Linked DNA regions of Homo sapiens: all the other regions are linked to region 1. Evidence: promoter capture Hi-C in 16 types of primary human blood cells and fetal thymus (Javierre and others, 2016). All regions are on one chromosome and are shown on one strand. Each heading gives the region's core, a stretch centred on a gene start or on the middle of the fragment in contact. The rest is flanking DNA. Distances are from core to core; before and after follow the strand shown. Region 1 holds the start of CALML3 (calmodulin like 3). Region 2 has its middle 65 kb from the start of AKR1C1. Region 3 has its middle 23 kb from the start of AKR1E2. Region 4 overlaps AKR1E2 (aldo-keto reductase family 1 member E2). Region 5 has its middle 27 kb from the start of AKR1E2. Region 6 has its middle 47 kb from the start of AKR1C1.

Region 1 (3,226 bases), core at 63-2,562:
GAAATGAAATAAGGACGAATATCTCATTTATTTCCCTGCAGCTCTCATCCCCTGCTCATCCAAGCCTCCCTCCTTCCAGATGAATAGGAACAGGTTACAGCTGACCCAGTTTCACTCCCAGCTTCAGAAGATGAATCACGGTGGGTTGGCGGACAAGGAATGGGGCAAGCTGGGGCAGCGCGGAAGGCAGTGCTGTTTTCAGGAGGCCTGACCTCTGTGGCCAGAGTCCCCGTCAGCACCGCTTACTGCAGGCCAAGATGCCTCCCACCCTCCAGAATCCGACCGCGGAGGGAGCTTCCAGTCCAGGAGCCTGCGGGAATCCTGGCGGGGGCTGAGGGCTGCAGCCCCCCTGGCCTGGGCATTGGGTGCCTCTTAGGGATCTTGCCTGGGTGCCCTAAGGGGTCACCCGGTGTCCGTCCTGGAGGGCCGCAGAGTCAGCGCAACCTGCCCTGGTGCTCGGTCCTAAGGTCAGCTCTGCTTCTCCCGAGTGGGGAGGGCGTCACGGTTTGCCTGCAGTGGGAGCGTTCCGTGTCATTCAGACGAGCAGGTGGGAAGGTCGGCAGGAGTGCAGAGAAGAGACGCGGGAAGCGGGATGCAGAGAGGTGGGCTGAATCAACCAGGCGCAGGAGGAAGCCACAGTGCCCAGGGGAGGCAGGGGGATGGGGGAGGAGGCGGGAGGCCCCGGGTTCTTGCCCTGTGGGCCGCGTGGGCGCCCAGGAGCATGGTGGGCGCCGGCCTCACTTGGACACCAGCACACGGACAAACTCCTCGTAGTTCACCTGTCCGTCTCCGTCCGTGTCCGCGGCCCGGATCATCTCGTCCACCTCCTCGTCACTCAGCTTCTCCCCCAGCCGGGTCATGACGTGTCGCAGCTCGGCGGCGCTGACGAAGCCGTTGCCGTCCTTGTCGAACACGCGGAAGGCCTCGCGGATCTCCTCCTCGTTGTCCGTGTCCTTCATCTTCCTGGCCATCATGCCCAGGAACTCGGGGAAGTCCACGGTGCCGTTGCCGTCCCGGTCGATCTCACTCATCATGTCCCGCAGCTCGGCCTCCGTGGGGTTCTGGCCCAGGGACCGCATGACCGTGCCCAGCTCGCGGGTGGTGATGCAGCCGTCCCCATCCTTGTCAAACAGGGAGAAGGCCTCCTTGAATTCTGTGACCTGCTCCTCAGTCAGCTGGTCGGCCATGCCAGGGGTGGGGGCGTGGGTGGCAGAAGAGGCCACTGTGGGGTCTCCCTCCCAGTGCCGCAGCCCGGCTGCTGTCCCAGCTCTGGGGTGGCAGGTGGAGATCCGGGCGGCCGGCGGGCTGTCTCGCCCTGGCTTGAGACGCTGGAGCTTAAGAAGCAGCAGAGTCCTCCCCCATCATTGGCAGACGCCCCTGCCCTGCGGTTGCCCGGGCCTGTCCTGTTTAGACAGGAGTCCAGGGCCTGCGAATCGAGCTGACGCCAGCACCTCTGTGCCTGCTTGCACCTGGACCCAGCAGAGCCACGGGGGCCCCGAATCACACCTGCAGTCAGGGCGTGGTGGGTGAGCTTTGGAGCAATCCACGCTGGACTCCTTCCTCCTGAATTTCCCTTTCTCTCCTCCCTCCCCGTCTCCCACCTGCCGCCTGTCTCCCACTCAATAAACTCCAGTGCCCTTTCTTCCCTTGAGTGGAGGGCTTTTTGCAGGATGAAAGGCAGATGAAAGAAACGTCCTTGCCTTTGGTTTCTAAAGCCTCATATAGAACAGGAGGGTTTTTGGAGGAGGAAGGTTTTCCCTTCAGGTAGAAGCAGCGAGTTTTCTTATCTTCAGAATGGACATGAATAGGGAGGGGTTTCCTCCAACCCATTCACTCATCCACCCTTTCACAGATATTTGAGTGCCTACTAGGTGCAGTGTCACTCTGGAAGCTGGGAACACAGTGGGACCGGCAAGCCACCCCCAGTCCTCGTGAGGTTAACTAGCAAGACAGCTAGTTTGCAGGTCAACTGATCGAGGAATGCAAACAAGGTGACTAGGGATTATTGATAAATGCTGATGGACATACAAGGTGGTGATGGACAGGACCCCGAGGTCACCTTTCAGCCTGGTCAAGGACAGACCTCCTGCTGAGAAGCAGCTGTCTAGGCCGGAGTGGCCATGGCAGGGCCAAGGGCTGGAAGATGATCAGTGGGGCTGCAGGCCTGTGAGGGAGGGGACAAGGAGGAGAGACAAAGGAGACCTTGAAGGGCTCAGCCAGGAAGTCCCACTATCATTCTCTGGTCCACATTGCCCCAGGAGCTCCGGGCAGCATGGAGCTGGGGCTGTGGAGCGGCCTCTCCCAGAGGAGACCCGCTTAGGGGGATAGTGGGGTGTTCACAGCACAGACTCGGCTCCCACTCCCAGGGGGCCTGGAGACATGACCCCCAGAGAGGCAGGAGCAGGCGCTTCACCTGTGGGAATCCAAGAAATCCACACTGGGGGAGAAACATGGAGCCCACTCTATTTTTTGCTGGGTGTGTGGGGGTGGGGTAGAGACCGGAAAGGGAAAGAAAGTGTCCTTTTGAGGACCTGGACTTGCCGAGGAGAGACTATGGCAGGAGAAGGGCTCGGATATTCATTTTTTTTCTCTCTGATTTTCCTTCCCTTCTCTATTCAAGTAGAGGCAAGTGTGTCCTTCTGGTCTGGAGGGGGTCTGTGGTAGGGGGAAAATTGAAGCCACCTGCAAGACACCTTCCTTCCTACCTGAGGGCTCCCACAAAGCCTGTGTCCTGAGGGTTTGGGCAGGAGGAAGCAGGAAGGTTGAAGAATCCCTCCATCCCCATGGAATCTTTTCCTTAGAAGAGAAGTTTGTGGACCCCAGAGCAGCAGGGCTCAGGGATGTGGTGGCCACAGGCAGCCTTGGCAAAGAGCCCTGGGGCCCAGGGGTGGCGTGGAGGGAACGAGGTGATGGGCATCTTGGAAGCCACGTGTGTGGGTGACACTTTGGTGACCAGATCCCACCCTCCCCTCCTTTCTCACCCCAGAATATTCGGCCTTGCCTGAGACCTCACACCCCAACAGCTCTAGGGGAGTGGGGAGATGGGCTGGCCAGGACTCCCTGGGGTAGGAGAGGGGCTGATAATAAAGTTTAGATTTAGAGAGAAAAATGAGGCAGCATCTCCATTTGCAGGCTGGGAGCATGCCCTGGGCCCAGGTTACAGCTCTGTCCACAGGGGGCTGCGCAAGAAAGAGTGTGTGCTTTGCTCCTGGGAGCCCCGCCCTTC
Region 2 (2,849 bases), core at 275-2,774, 630 kb after region 1:
TTCTTTGTAGATTCTGGATATTAGCCCTTTGTCAGATGGGTAGATTGCAAAAATTTTCTCCCATTCTGTAGGTTGCCTGTTCACTCTGATGGTAGTTTCTTTTGCTGTGCAGAAGCTCTTTAGTTTAATTAGATCCCATTTGTCTAGTTTGGCTTTTGTTGCCATTGCTTGTGTTGTTTTGGTCATGAAGTCCTCGCCCATGCCTATGTCCTGAATGGTATTGCCTAGGTTTTCTTCTAGGGTTTTTATGCTTTTAGGTCTAACATTTAAGTCTTTAATCCATCTTGAATTAATTTTTGTATAAGGTATAAGGAAAGGATCCAGTTTCAGCTTTCTACATATGGATAGCCAGGTTTCCCAGCACCATTTATTAAATAGGGAATCCTTTCCCCACTTCTTGTTTTTGTCAGGTTTCTCAAAGATCAGATGATTGTAGATGTGTGGTGTTATTTCTGAGGCCTCTGTTCTGTTCCATTGGTCTATATATCTGTTTTGGTACCAGTACCATGCTGTTTTGGTTACTGTAGCCTTGTACCTGACCTCAAATTTTACTACAGAGCTATAGTAATCAAAACAGCAGGGTATTGTCATAAAAACAGACACATATATCAATGGAACAGAACAGAGAACCCAGAAACAAATCTACACACCTACAGTGCACTCATTTTTAACAAGGTGCCAAGAACATACACTAGGGAAAAGACAATCTCTTCGATAAATAGTGCTGGGAAAACTGGATATCTATATGCAGAAGAATGAAACTAGACCCCTATCTCTTGCCATATGCAAAAAAATCAAATCAAAATGGGTTAAAAGTTTAAATCTAAGATCTCAAACTACGAAACTACTACAAGAAAACATTGGAGAAATCTTCAGGACATTGGTCTGGGCAAAAATTTCTTGACTAATACCCTATAAGCATAGGCAACCAAAGCAAAAACGGACAAACGGAATCATAAGTTACAAAGCTCTGCACAGAAAAGGAAACAATTAACAAAGTGAAGCGAAAACCCCCACAGAATGGGAGACAATATTTGCAAACTCTTCATCTGACAAGGTATTAATAACCAAAATACATCGGGAGCTCAAACAACTCTATAGGAAAAAAATGTAATAATCCAATTTAAAAAATGGTCAAAAGATTTGAATAGATTTTTTTTAATCTGTCATTATTTCCAGCTTTATCTTATAAAGTTTGTTTATTTTTCTTAGTTTTTTTTTATTATATTTTAAGTTTTAGGGTACATGTGCACAACCTGCAGGTTAGTTACATATGTATACATGTGTCATGTTGGTGTGCTGCACCCATTTACTCGTCATTTAACATTAGGTATATCTCCTAATGCTATCCCTCCCCTCTTCCCCCACCCCACAACAGGCCCCGGTGTGTGATGTTCCCTTTCCTGTGTCCATGTGTTCTCATTGTTCAATTCCCACCTATGAGTGAGAACATGCGGTGTTTGGTTTTTTGTCCTTGTGATAGTTTGCTGAGAATGATGGTTTCCAGCTTCACCCATGTCCCTACTAAGGACATGAACTCATCATTTTTTATGGCTGCATAGTATTCCATGGTGTATACGTGCCACATTTTCTTAATCCAGTCTATCATTGTTGGACATTTGGGTTGGTTCCAAGTCTTTGCTATTCTGAATAGTGCCGCAATAAACATACGTGCGCATGTGTCTTTACAGCAGCATGTTTTATAATCCTTTGGGTATTTACCCAGTAATGGGATTGCTGGGTCAAATGGTATTTCTAGTTCAAGATCCCTGAGGAATCGCCACACTGTCTTCCACAATGGTTGAACTAGTTTACAGTCCCACCAACAGTGTAAAAGTGTTCCTATTTCTCCACATCCTCTCCAGCACCTGTTTTTTCCTGACTTTTTAATGATCGCCATTTTAACTGGTGTGAGATGGTATCTCATTGTGGTTTTGATTTGCATTTCTCTGATGGCCAGTGATGATGAGCATTTTTTCATGTGTCTTTTGGCTGCATAAATGTCTTCTTTTGAGAAGTGTCTGTTCATATCCTTCGCCCACTTTTTGATGGAGTTGTTCGTTTTTTTCTTGTAAATTTGTTGGAGTTCATTGTAGATTCTGGATATTAACCCTTTGTCAGATGAGCAGATTGCAAAAATTTTCTCCCATTCTGTAGGTTGCCTGTTCAATCTGATAGTAGTTTTTTTTTTGCTGTGCAGAAGCTCTTTAGTTTAATTAGATCCCATTTGTCAATTTTGGCTTTTGTTGCCATTGTTTTTGGTGTTTTAGACATGAAGTCCTTGCCCATGCCTATGTCCTGAATGGTATTGCCTAGGTTTTCTTCTAGGGTTTTTATGGTTTCAGGTCTAATATTTAAGTCTTTAATCCATCTTGAATTAATTTTTGTATAAGGTGTAAGGAAGGGATCCAGTTTCAGCTTTCTACATATGGCTAGCCAGTTTTCCCAGCACCATTTATTAAATAGGGAATCCTTTCTCCATTTCTTGTTTTTGTCAGGTTTGTCAAAGATCAGATAGTTGTAGATATGCAGCATTATTTCTGAGGGCTCTGTTCTGTTCCATTGGTCTATATCGCTGTTTTGGTACCAGTACCATGCTGTTTTGGTTACTGTAGCCTTGTAGTATAGTTTGAAGTCAGGTAGCATGATGCCAATATCCCTGATGAACATCAATGCAAAAATCCTCAATAAAATATGAATCCAGCAGCACATCAAAAAACTTATTCACCATGATCAAGTGGGCTTCATCCCTGGGATGCAAGGTTGGTTCAACATGTGCAAATCAACAAACATAATCCAGCATATAAACAGAACCAATGACAAAAACCACATGATTATCTCAATAGATA
Region 3 (2,831 bases), core at 172-2,671, 720 kb after region 1:
GAAGGAGGTGGGACCCACACTTCCAGCCCTTTGGAGCCCCTGGGGAAACTCTGAGATATTCCAGTCCCCACCTCTGTGTGTTCTGATGTCACAGGTCCACTCCACAGGAGGACTGGAACACAGAGGTCTGACACAACAGCCAAATCTAAGCTGCACAACTCTATACCTCTAACAAGCAGTTTAGAAAATATGCTGATATTATCGTTTTTATAAAGAAAACCATTTCAAAATTCTGCATGTTTCAAGAAGTTGGAGATAATTTCCTTTATTTTGAGGAAGACAATACTGAACTATGGGAAGATGGACAAGGTTAGTTCCAGCACAGAGAGTCAAGCTCTCGACAGACATTGGCCTGGACACACAGAAGGACAGGGTTCAATACTCTCTACCAAGCAAGAAAATCCTTCTGTTTCCAGGCTACTGGGAAAGCTAGTTCAGAAAAGGTGGGCTCCATATACTCTCATTCCTTTCTGCACCCCTAAAATCCTGAGACAAAGACATATTCCTAAACTAGGCAAATGTTCAAGCAGTCATTGTAGATTCTGAAACCAAAGGGAAGTGTGATTTGCCTCTTGTTGTATTTATTTGTTGTGTTGTTTTTGTTTATTGTTACCCTTCCAAGTCATAATAAGTAACATTTGAGAAGCTGCACTAAGGTGTCAAATGTCGCTCTTGATTACAGGTCAAGTACAATTTCGACAAATATTATTTTAATTGAGTGATTTCTTAACAACGCAGTGTCCTCATTCTGGTAGATGGGCCAAAGAGGCTTAGCTTTATTGCTTTGTTAAAAGTCAGTCACTCTGTGATGAAAGATGCTATTTTGCACGGGCTACTCTATAGATCTACATGAGAGACCTCCTTGAGCTGTGGCTACTTTTCTGCAGGGTTAGGTAGGGATGTGCTCTCCATGGTTCCTGCCAGCAGGAATCCCTCCCTTCCCCTTCCTGGTGCTCCTCCTCCACAAGTACACAGTCCACAGACCTTGAACTTAGGTAGTGAGAGTAAGAAAGGAAGGGAAAAGAAAAAAAGAGGTAAAAATAAACATCTATAAGTTCCATATACACTGCTGTGAGCGAATGTGTGTGCTTTAGCAGGAGAAAAATATTTTAGTATTGAACAAGCCAACTCAACCCGGACTTTTCCTGCAGAATCCTCAAATAATTAAGCATCCAATAGAAAAAATTAAGCCAGTATGTGACATCATCTGGCCTAGTTTCAAGAACAACTCTACATTAAACATTCTTCACTCTTTCACCTGATGGGCAGGTTGAAGTTTGGCATTGCCTTATACCCCATCCCTTGCTGAACACTGGAAAGGAAGTCACCCCTATGATTAGTGAACGTGTGTCTACTTGTCTGGTCTTCTTCTCGTTCAACAACAACATAAACTACAAAAGCCTGGATTTTTTCTAGTGCTAGGAATTTGGATCATTTAAAACATCTGATCAAATTCAGGTAAAATAAAACTAGTGCAGAAATTACCTATGAAAGAAAAATTGAATAAGAATAAAAGATCAGTGTGTTGGTTGCTTTCCCATCAAACTTGTACAAGGATAACATAGGCTCAGATATGTAAACATCTAAAAATTAAGAAACATGTGACATGAAATGTACACAAAATTTAAAACATGAAACTATAGCAAACTGGCTATGTACTGTTGTGTATTTGCTTAGAAACAGAATATTTCAAGAATTGAATTTAACAATGCATGAACTTATTTACAATTAAAAACAACTTTATAAGGCATATTTCTCAATTTTAATACCCAATCCAACAGCCCAATAAAAGTGGAGAAGCCCTTAACACTTCTTGTATCTTTAAAAGACTAACATTTTCTTTAAGACTTACAACTAAATCTTTAAATAAGAATTAGCTATTTTAACATTAGAAGATAACAATTTTTTAAAGGACTGCATTGTTTTTGCTCAGAGAGTTGCATAGAAAAGGACCTTATCCTCCCCTCTTTTTCTGCTACATACACACACACACACACACACACACACACACATATATACACATCCCCCTCACAAATCAAGTCTTTTCATTTAAAACAAATATTTTGGATGAGGTAATCCTAAGAGTGTCTGAAAGACAACTGTCTCTTTTTTGGTGGGGGAAAGAGTGGAATTGGAGAGAAATCATAAAAAACACTGATGTAGATAATTAGTTGAAGAAATAATATTCATGTTTTTAATAAAATTTTTAAAATTCATCTAAAGCGGTTACTTTATTCATTTGTTTTTACATTAATTCATCTAACAACTATTAATTAAAACCACTAGGAAGTGGAAATTAAAATACTTAAGCAAGTCTTTTTGGTTGCAATTAACAAAACCCCTCTGAGCTGGCAGAATGCAGCACCAAGGGCTGTGGTACAGATCTGAGGCACCTAAGGGAAGGCAGAGGGGCAGCAGGGCCTCCCAGGGAACCATGCCACAGGCTCGCTGTGACCCAAGGTGACAAACCTCTCATCTCTGTGTCTCTCTTCTGCTTTGTTCTTTTCTCTCCTTGCAAACAAACATGTTCTGATTTTGGGTGTGCATGAGTCAAAACAACCCAAACTCTCCTCAGCCCTGCCTGCAGGACACCAGTTAAGCGGCTTACAGACACTCGTTAGAGTTTGAAATCCAAATCCACATTCCAGGAAGAGAGCATCCTGTTGGCCTTGCCCTGCTCTCATGACATCTCAGGTTCATCAGTTATACCTAGAATGTTTCTCAGGAAGGGGTTTGGGCTTGGAGAGTGGATCCAGGAGTTGTGAAATCAGAACAGAGCTTTCAATGCAAGGGTGCCCAACACCCCCGCTTCATGATCTGATAGAAAATCT
Region 4 (2,843 bases), core at 266-2,765, 690 kb after region 1:
GTGCCAGTGCAGGCCTTCATCATCTTCCACCTGCACTGCTGTTAATGTCTCCTACCTGGCCTCCTGCCTCTGCCTCAAATGCAAGCTTCTTTCACCTACTAAAATATCCTATATACAACACAAGTTGCACTCACATATGATACAAGCTGCCCTATTTAAAAATGAAACAGGGCTCCTCTGTCTCTAGGTAAAAGCACAGCTCCTGACAGGGCACAGCTGAACTTCCATGGCTTAGCCTATCCACCACTCAGCCTCACTTCTCATTACTCCTGCAACCTGACATTGTGTGGTCCAGAGAGACCAAGTGATTTGGTTTGGTTGTGTCCACAGCCAAATCTCATCTTGAATTGTAGCTCCCATAATCCCTACGTGTCATGGGAGGGACCCAGTGGGAGGTAACTGAATCATGGGGGCAAGTTTTTCCTATGCTGTTCTGGTGATAGTGAATAAGTCTCGTGACAACTGATGGTTTTATAAACGGCAGTTCCCCTGTACACTTTCTCTTGTCTGCTACCATGTAAGACGTGCCTTTGTTCCTCCTTCGCCTTTTGCCATGATTGTGAGGCCTCCCCAGCTATGTGAAACTGTGAGTCAATTAAACCTCTTTTTCTTTATAAACTACCCAGTCTCAGGTATGTTCGTACAGCAGCATGAGAACAGACTAATACACCAAGCTTCCTACAAACCCCTGCACCTGCCGTGCTGCTTCCTGCCTTATGCCTGTGCTCAAGCTGCTTCCTCCACACCCAGAGTTTCTCCTTCAACAGATGTGGGGTAGAATTTGGAATCTGCATTTAACAATCACCCCAGTGATTCTGAATTTAGGAATCGCTGTGTAAACAGACTTCATGAGGGCTAGGACTTTGTCCTATTCACCACTGTAGTCAAAGTGCCCATCACTAACTGAATTTTGATAATGTATTGTTAATTGGGGGATATCTGTGTACTCCTACCTGAATGACCAAGTAAATAATATGAAACAAACCTGCACACAATATAATTCAGCATGCTCATGAAGCTGTGAATATTCTTGTTTATTCCGATTTGAGTATGAAACAAAGTCATCAACTCCCATAAAGAAAGTAGAAAGCCCTCCAGAGATGTAGCATTACCCAAGCTCTGCCAGCCTTGCATAGAGAAGCCCTACCTTAGTGGCAATGAACAGATCCTCCCGTCTTACAGCGCCTTCCTTGATCTTGCAACGGATCCCTGCTCCAACCTCCCTCTCATTGTGGTAAAAGTAAGCACAGTCGAAGTGCCGGTACCCTGCGTCAATGGCCTCTTTCACTGCCTCGGTCACTTTCCCTGGAGAAGCCTGCAAAACCAACAAAACAAAGTGTCTTCTCACAGTCAGAGGAATCCAACACAAATCTCCCCTTTCACCCAAGCATGTGGACAACATAATACATAAAAAATTAAGTCACTAATTTGGTACTAGTATAATCAGTCTAAAAACAGGCAATATCAGTTATGAAGGAATTTATGAATAATCTAAGTTCCAACTCCTTTACATATTTTGGGAAAAAAAAACTATAGGTTATTTTTAGTGTCTGCAGAAAACTGAGCTAGATGGTATGCTTCCTGAATGATCAAAGCAATAAAAAAGTACAGAATGAATAATAACTGAGATGCAAAGAGGCTTAAGATTTATCCTGTATACTCAGATACCACAGCGTCCAATAATAAAGGCTGAGGTGTAGACTCACACGAAGGTATCCATACAAAAAGAAGTATATAACAAAACCTAAATGAATGTATAATGCTACAAGCAATAAGGTAGTTCAGAAAAGAGAACAGTCACTCTAAATGAAGCTCAGGCAAGGGAAGGGACTAGAACTAGGGAAGACTATGGGGGTGGGCGGGTTTGCAGTCTCATTAAACTGAAGACTGACAAGGGCTTTATAGTTCACAAACCACTTTCTCACTGGAGCTTCACGGTAACCCTAGGAGTTAGAGCAGCATAATTATCTTCATTTTATAGGCAACAGATTCAGAGTGGTTGAAAGCTAATGAACCAAGTATCCATCTTAAGTTAGAAAAAGAACCCAAGAAATTGGATGGAAAGATAAAAATATGATTAAGAATAACATCAATAAAATAGAAAACAAAGATGTAACAGAGAAGATCAACAAAACCAGAAGTCAGTTCTTTGAAAAACTTCAGTAAAATAAACAGACTTCTGGCTAGGTTGATGAAGAGGCCAACTTTTTAAAAAACTGACACGAATGGACAGTAAAACATGCAGATAAAATGGACTTAAAAGAAAATATTACCAATAACTATATGTCAATAACTTGGAAAAATGAGATAAAATGGGAAAATTCCTAGAAAAATTTAACCCAAGAATAAAGCTTGAATAGTTACATAATTATTAAAGAATGCAAGGAATTCAAAAAAAAGAGAAAACCACCAGTTTCATAAAATTTTCAAGAAAAAAATCATCTCAGTTTAACACAGACTTTCAAACAACAGAAAAAGACGGACTTATCTCAACTCATTCTACAAAACTAGCATAACCCTGAATCAAAATCAGACAAAAATATTAAAAGTCACACATTCATCTTATTCATGAATACCGTTGCAAAATTCATAAGTAAAATAAAAGCAAATTGGATGCAACAATATTTATGAAAAGATAATATACCACACCCATGTTGAGTGTATCTCAGATATCTAAGGATGGTTTGATATTAGAAAATCTGTAATTCATCAATATTAACAGATTAAAGTACAAAAACAAAAGTCAACTCAATCAATATTTGTTAAGATTCAATACCAGTTTAGATTCAAAATCTAAACTCCCAGTAAGTCGGGGAAAAGAATTAATCTGATAAAGAGTATCA
Region 5 (2,949 bases), core at 146-2,645, 670 kb after region 1:
AAGGCAGCTACACTGAAAAGTTCAGGTGGCAACTTGTGGTCATGAAGCGATCTTTTCCAGCAGTCCCATCAGCTCTCAAGTTTCCCTTCTTAGGGAGGAAAAAGCTCCCCATGTCCCATGATCCTGTACATGTCTAATCCTGTCACCCATAGCCATCAGCAAAGAGGGCAAGGCAGATTATTCCAAAGACAATAGCAGTTAACATCCCATAGTGCCAAACCCATTCTTAGCCGAAAGAGACTTTACCCAGAGGGGCCTCTAACCCTCCTTAGTTGGGCCTCTAACCCAAGGTCAGTCAAGTGTCCTTGCCTTTTATGAAGAGGGGCCTCTAACCTACTCTGTCTTAGGAGAGACCCTAACTCCCCTAAGTTAGGCCTGCTACCAAATCCCATTCTTTACCTGGGTATACACACCCCACTTACCCAAAGTCCGCTGATCACTGCTGTAGTCTATTTCCTTTGGGTGGGAGGTCTCCTCAGTATCAGCCCTTTTGTGGTTCATGAGAAAAATGTTACTGGACCCCACCCACCACTTACCCAAAGTTAGCCTCTGGGTCGGGGCGGGGGGTTCCTCACTATAGTCCCTTCAGTGGTCACAAGAAAGATGTTACAGCAAAGGGTCTGGAAGAAGACCCCAAGAGAGGGTTCTTAGATCTCGCACGAGTGAATTCAGGGCAAGTCCACAGAGTAAAGTGAAAGCAAGTTTATTAAGAAAGTAAAGGAGTAGGCCAGGTGCGGTGGCTCATGCCTATAATCCCAGCACTTTGGGAGGCCAAGGTGGGCAGATCATGAGGTCAGGAGTTAAAGACCAGCCTGGTCAATATGGTGAAACCCCATCTCTACTAGAAATACAAAAATTAGCTGGATGTGGTGGCATGCACCTGTAGTCCCAGATACTCGGGAGGCTGAGGCAGAAGAATCACTTGAACCCGGGAGGTGGAGTTTGCAGTGAGTTGAGATAGTGCCACTATACTCCAGCCTTGGCAGCAGAGCATGACTCTGTCTAAAAAAAAAAAAAAAAAAAAAAAAAAACAGTAAAGGAGTAAAAGAATGGCTACTCCATAGACAAAACAGCCCCAAGGGCTGCTGGCTGCCCAGTTTTATGGTTATTTCTTGATGATATGCTAAACAAGGAGTACATTATTTCTGCCTCCCCTTTTTAGACCCTATAGGGTAGCTCCCTGACATTGCCATGGCGCTGGTGGGAGTGTAGCATTGAGGACGACCAGAGGTCACTCTCATCGCCATCTTGGTTTTGGGGGATTTATTGCAACCTGTTTTATCAGCAAGGTCTTTATGACCTGTATTTTGTGTGACCTCCTATCTCATCCTGTGACTTAGAATGCCTTAACCATCTGGGAATGCAGCCCAATAGGTCTCAGTCTCATTTTACTCAGCCCCTATTCAAGGTGGAGTTGCTCTGATTTAAATGCCTCTGACAGTTGTCCCCACTTTCAGTTGTTCCATGTTTCCAGACCAAACCAAAGTCTATCTCACTTATACGGATTGGTGTCTTATGTCTCCCTAAAACATATAAAACTAAGCTGTAACCAGACCACAATGGGCACATGTCCTCAGGATCTCCTGAGGCTGTGTCATGGGTCATGGTTCTCATATTTGGCTTAGAATCAATCTCTTCAGATATTTTACAGAGTTTGGTTTTTTTTTTTTTTTTGGCAACAAGTTCCTCATTGCAATATTGCAATTAACCTTAAACAAACTACTGTGTGTCCAGTCTAATGTATCAAAGAAATACAATTATCTGAAAAAGCTCTAAATATGCCTCCTTTTTCCAACTACTAATTTATGAGGCTGGGGTTTTTTCATGAAGTTTAGCCAAGACATTTTGATTGAATGCAGACTCAGATATGAAATCTACAAAGCCAGACTTATTAAATAAGTTTGCAAACATATAAAACAACGCCAATCTTGTAAATATTTTTCTTTTGCCTTGGGGAATATATTATGAGAGTTTGGCTCTGGTTACTATATGCTACAATAGTTTTTAGGGGCTTACTTTCCCCATTGCTTTGTAAATGATTCTAACTCCTAATTGAATTCAATTTCTTTGTTTCTTCTAGTAACATCTATCCCACTCTGATCATTTCCTGAGGTTTCCTAAATGTTCTTTTGTCTTAAGACATAGCCCCACAACCTCTTTTATCTCTTCAGCTTTAAAATATCCCTCAAGGTCACAGACACACACAGAAGGAAGACCATGTGAGGACACAGAAGGAAAAGTCCTGGAGAGAGGCCTCAGAAGAAACCAAATCTGTTAACACCTTGACCCTAGACTTCTAGCCTCTAAAACTGTGAGAAAATGGATTTCTGCCGTGTAAGCCAAAAAAAAGAATAAAATATTTTTAGAACAAAAACAACAAAATAAAATGAAAATAAAAAAGCAGCAGCAATTCCAGCAGACCTTGCCAATCCATCTCTGTTGTATTTTCTGCTTGCAAACTGTCCTAACCTGCTTCAGCGTAAATTCATTAGACACCAGGTGGGGTGGCACAGTGGTGAAGGTCTGTCCCTGCAGCTGTCACAACTCAATCCCACTTAATCTAACTTAATTTCAGAGATTCTCTTCCTTTGGGTAGTCTCTAGCTAACGGTATTCTCCTTCCATTGATGGAGCTATTTCTGTCTTATTATTTTACAAGAATTAATCGCACCACAGTTTCTGTTGTTGCCCAGCATTTGTTCAGGGCCCTTTGTGCCTGCAGAATCTTCTTCACTAATGAGGGCCGTGATCTATCTTGACAAGAGAAGGAGCCTTTTTCATGCTCTTCAGCTCTTTGAGAATTTTCCACTTCCCCCTAGAGATGCTGATTTTTCTAGCCAAGAAATTGCTGTTTCCGTATCTCCTTCTGATTTAAATATACCGCCTCTGTTTAAAATCAGGGCTGGAAGTAAATTAAGCATATAATGGCTTGAACTCGTGTGACTCACCA
Region 6 (3,061 bases), core at 81-2,580, 610 kb after region 1:
TACAGAAAACTCTCAATTTATTTTATGAGGCTAGCATAACTGATGATAAACCTGAAAAATAAAAAAGGAAAACTATAACTATAGCTCAATTACACTGATGAACCTAAATGCATAATTCTAAATAAAAATATTACCTAATAGAATCCAAGACTGATGGAACAATCTTGATGGGCAATCACTGAGTAACTGTGGTTCACCGACTCCAGTAACGCCGGAGTCTAAGTCCTCTACCTATTTCCCTAAAGAGAGCCTCGCAAGGCCTGAGGAGTCCGACAATGCTTCATCCCAGCCTTCCACACCCATTGCCATATTTATGGAGGGAGGGAAGAGAGAGAAAAAGAGAGTCAACACTCTTCAGAGGACTCGCTCCTCTTAGAGGTCAGGGATGAAAAATTAGCCAATAAAATAACATTTTCCTACCATTTACGCACTTGATTCATACTAAGATACATGTTTTTAATTCTAGAAATGACAACTTATTGTATCTATATTAAGATAATTCTTTTTTTAACTTTTATTTTAAGTTCAGGGGTACAAGTGCAGTTTTGCTACACAGGTAAACTTGTGTCATGGAGGTTTGTTGTACAGATTATTTCATCGCGCAGGTATTAAGCCTAGTACCCATCAGTTATTTTTCCTGATTCCCTCCTCCTATCCTCCGCCCTCCGAAAGGCCCCAGTGTGTGTTGTTCCCCTCTCTGGGTCCATGTGTTCTCATCATTTAGCTCCCACTTATAAGTGCGGACATGTGGTACTTGGTTTTCTGTCCCTGTGTTAATTTTCTAAAGATAACGGCCTCCAGTTCCATCCATGTCCCTGCAGTGGACACGATCTTGTTCTTTTTTACGGCTGCACAGCATTTCGTGTTGTATACGGACCAGATTTTCTTTCTCCAGTCTGTCATGCACGGGCATTCAGGTGGATTCTACGGCTTTGCTATTGTGAATGTGCCGCAATAAACATACACAGGCACACGTCTTTATAACACAATGATGTATAAGCTTCTGGGTGTACAGCCAGTAATGGGATTGTTGGGCCAAATGGTTCAAGTTTTCCAATGAGAATATATTGTATGAATAACTTCTGAATTTTCATATCAGATTCAGACACTTTTCTGAAAGACAAGCACATGGCCGGCCAGGTTCTCACATTTCAGGAAGGGCTACTGTTTGCCTGAGGGTCCTTAGGGATATGTTATTGTTATTATTTTTCTATTAAATATTCTATTAAATCGATATTAAATTTAAATTTAATATCTATTAAATCAATATTAAATTCTATTAAATAGTTATTAAATCTGTGCTTGACCCACTTCTGCTTTGATTATGATAAATAATTTGGTCTGTGACTTTAACTGTAGCATAGGAGGGAGGGTTAAATATAAAAGAGCAGGTAACAGCCAAGATCAATTTATTTTGCAAGTTTCACAATAAAAGATCACAAGGCAAGCAAGAACATAAGAACTTTTCCAATGTCTAAAGGGCAATGGTTTCTCCCTTTACACCCGCTGTGAAGTTCAGTGTTTTTCTATTCATGATTGGACATGTCCTAGACATCACTTAGAGGTAAGCACCAAAATCTTTATTTATAGGAAACAATTCTCTGGATGTCAGGAAATATTCCTGTCTCAATATGGGACCATTCCCAGTTACTAAGCTTTAAATTATCATGCATACTTTTTGGTCTTTTAAGTGATTATATTGAGTGCTTTCTTAGGGCTTTCTTTGTAATTTGAAATTACTTGCTAAACTTGTTTAATTATTTCTATATAAAGGATATAAATTATAATTATGTAATTTTAAATAAATGCATAAATGCAACCATGTTCTGCTTTTTACTTTTTCTTTCAATTATTTGTCCTCAGTCGCATGGATATATACATGCTGTGTAGCTGAACTTTTTTCTTTCTCTTCAGATCTCCTTATGCCCTTTCCTTTCCATGTCACTCTTTTCAGCAGCTCCTCACACTAATTTATTAACAGCTTAATATGTACTTCCATATTTTCCCCATGCTCATATAATACAGAACTATTTCTTTAAAAAAAAAACATATATATATATATATATGTAGGCTGGGTGCAGTGGCTCACGCCTGTAATCCCAGCACATTGGGAGGCTGAGGAAGGCAGATCACCTGAGGCCAGGAGATCGAGACCAGCCTGACCAACATGGAGAAACCCTATCTCTACTAAAAATACAAAAAATTAGCCAGGCATGGTGGCAGGGCACGCCTGTAATCCCAGCTACTTGGGAGGCTGAGGCAGGAGAATTGCTTGAACCTGAAAGGTGGAGGTTGCAGTGAGCCAAGATCACACCATTGCACTCCTGGGAAAAAAGGGCGAACTTCCATCTTAAAAAATATATATATATATTTTTATATATAATTATATGTATACATATAATTATATAGTATATAATTATAAGTATACATATAATTATACATATTTAATTATATAATATTAATATATAAATATAATTATATATAATAAATTTATATATATAAAATATATATGAAATATATATAACATATTTTATATATAAAATATGTATATATTTTATATCTATAAATGGCTCCCACTTATAAGTGCAGACATGTGGTATTTGGTTTTCTGTCCCTGTGTGAATTTATAATATATATATTTAGATATTATATACTTTACATATTTATATATTATATATTTAATATATTAATATATTATATAGTTATATATAATTATATATTTATATATTATATAATATATATTATATAATATATATTAATATATATTTTTTCTCAAATATATATATTTATTTCTGGTGTAATTATTCTGGTGTATAATTATTCTGGTGTAATATATATATATTTCTCATAACATATATTTTTTCTCAAATATATAATTACATATTATATATTTATATATGAAATATTTAAATATTTCACATATAATTTTATAATATATAAATATTTCATATATAAAGTATATATTATATATATGTATGTATAAATACAACACACAGAAAGTATTTGGTCATGGCTTAACAAAACTGGATCCTGATACACCGTCCTGTGAGGTCTAGCACAT

What was found. Contacts are between HindIII fragments. The CHiCAGO score rates a contact against its expected background, and 5 or more counts as called.
Region 2: a fragment that was not itself captured here is called in contact with the fragment with the promoter of CALML3 in region 1 in 1 of 17 cell types (M1 macrophages); the score reaches 5.5 in M1 macrophages.
Region 3: a fragment that was not itself captured here is called in contact with the fragment with the promoter of CALML3 in region 1 in 1 of 17 cell types (erythroblasts); the score reaches 5.2 in erythroblasts.
Region 4: a fragment that was not itself captured here is called in contact with the fragment with the promoter of CALML3 in region 1 in 2 of 17 cell types (M1 macrophages and M0 macrophages); the score reaches 8.0 in M1 macrophages.
Region 5: a fragment that was not itself captured here is called in contact with the fragment with the promoter of CALML3 in region 1 in 3 of 17 cell types (M1 macrophages, total CD4 T cells and M0 macrophages); the score reaches 7.1 in M1 macrophages.
Region 6: a fragment that was not itself captured here is called in contact with the fragment with the promoter of CALML3 in region 1 in 1 of 17 cell types (M1 macrophages); the score reaches 5.9 in M1 macrophages.

What each region holds. Positions count from the first base shown.
Region 1 is chr10:5,523,047-5,526,272 of GRCh38, reverse strand. CALML3 (calmodulin like 3) reads right to left here and starts at 1,312. Exons shown (of 1, transcript NM_005185.4): 1 at 1-1,312. The coding sequence starts at 1,187. The coding sequence ends at 738. It overlaps CALML3-AS1 (CALML3 antisense RNA 1), which reads left to right and starts at 27. Exons shown (of 3, transcript NR_120497.1): 1 at 27-140. RefSeq lists enhancers at 1-307, 308-1,007. The HindIII fragment of the contact is 11,209 bases long and covers 1-3,226 here.
Region 2 is chr10:4,896,701-4,899,549 of GRCh38, reverse strand. It overlaps the pseudogene AKR1C6P. Among named protein-coding and RNA genes, the nearest start is that of AKR1C1, 65 kb to the left of the region's middle. The HindIII fragment of the contact is 9,579 bases long and covers 1-2,849 here.
Region 3 is chr10:4,801,381-4,804,211 of GRCh38, reverse strand. No RefSeq gene overlaps it. Among named protein-coding and RNA genes, the nearest start is that of AKR1E2, 23 kb to the left of the region's middle. The HindIII fragment of the contact is 3,618 bases long and covers 1-2,831 here.
Region 4 is chr10:4,829,147-4,831,989 of GRCh38, reverse strand. AKR1E2 (aldo-keto reductase family 1 member E2) reads right to left here. Exons shown (of 10, transcript NM_001040177.3): 2 at 1,148-1,315. Among named protein-coding and RNA genes, the nearest start is that of AKR1E2, 4.4 kb to the right of the region's middle. The HindIII fragment of the contact is 1,677 bases long and covers 677-2,353 here.
Region 5 is chr10:4,852,168-4,855,116 of GRCh38, reverse strand. It overlaps a transcript of AKR1E2 not described here. Among named protein-coding and RNA genes, the nearest start is that of AKR1E2, 27 kb to the right of the region's middle. The HindIII fragment of the contact is 5,440 bases long and covers 1-2,949 here.
Region 6 is chr10:4,914,696-4,917,756 of GRCh38, reverse strand. It overlaps the pseudogene AKR1C6P. Among named protein-coding and RNA genes, the nearest start is that of AKR1C1, 47 kb to the left of the region's middle. The HindIII fragment of the contact is 655 bases long and covers 1,003-1,657 here.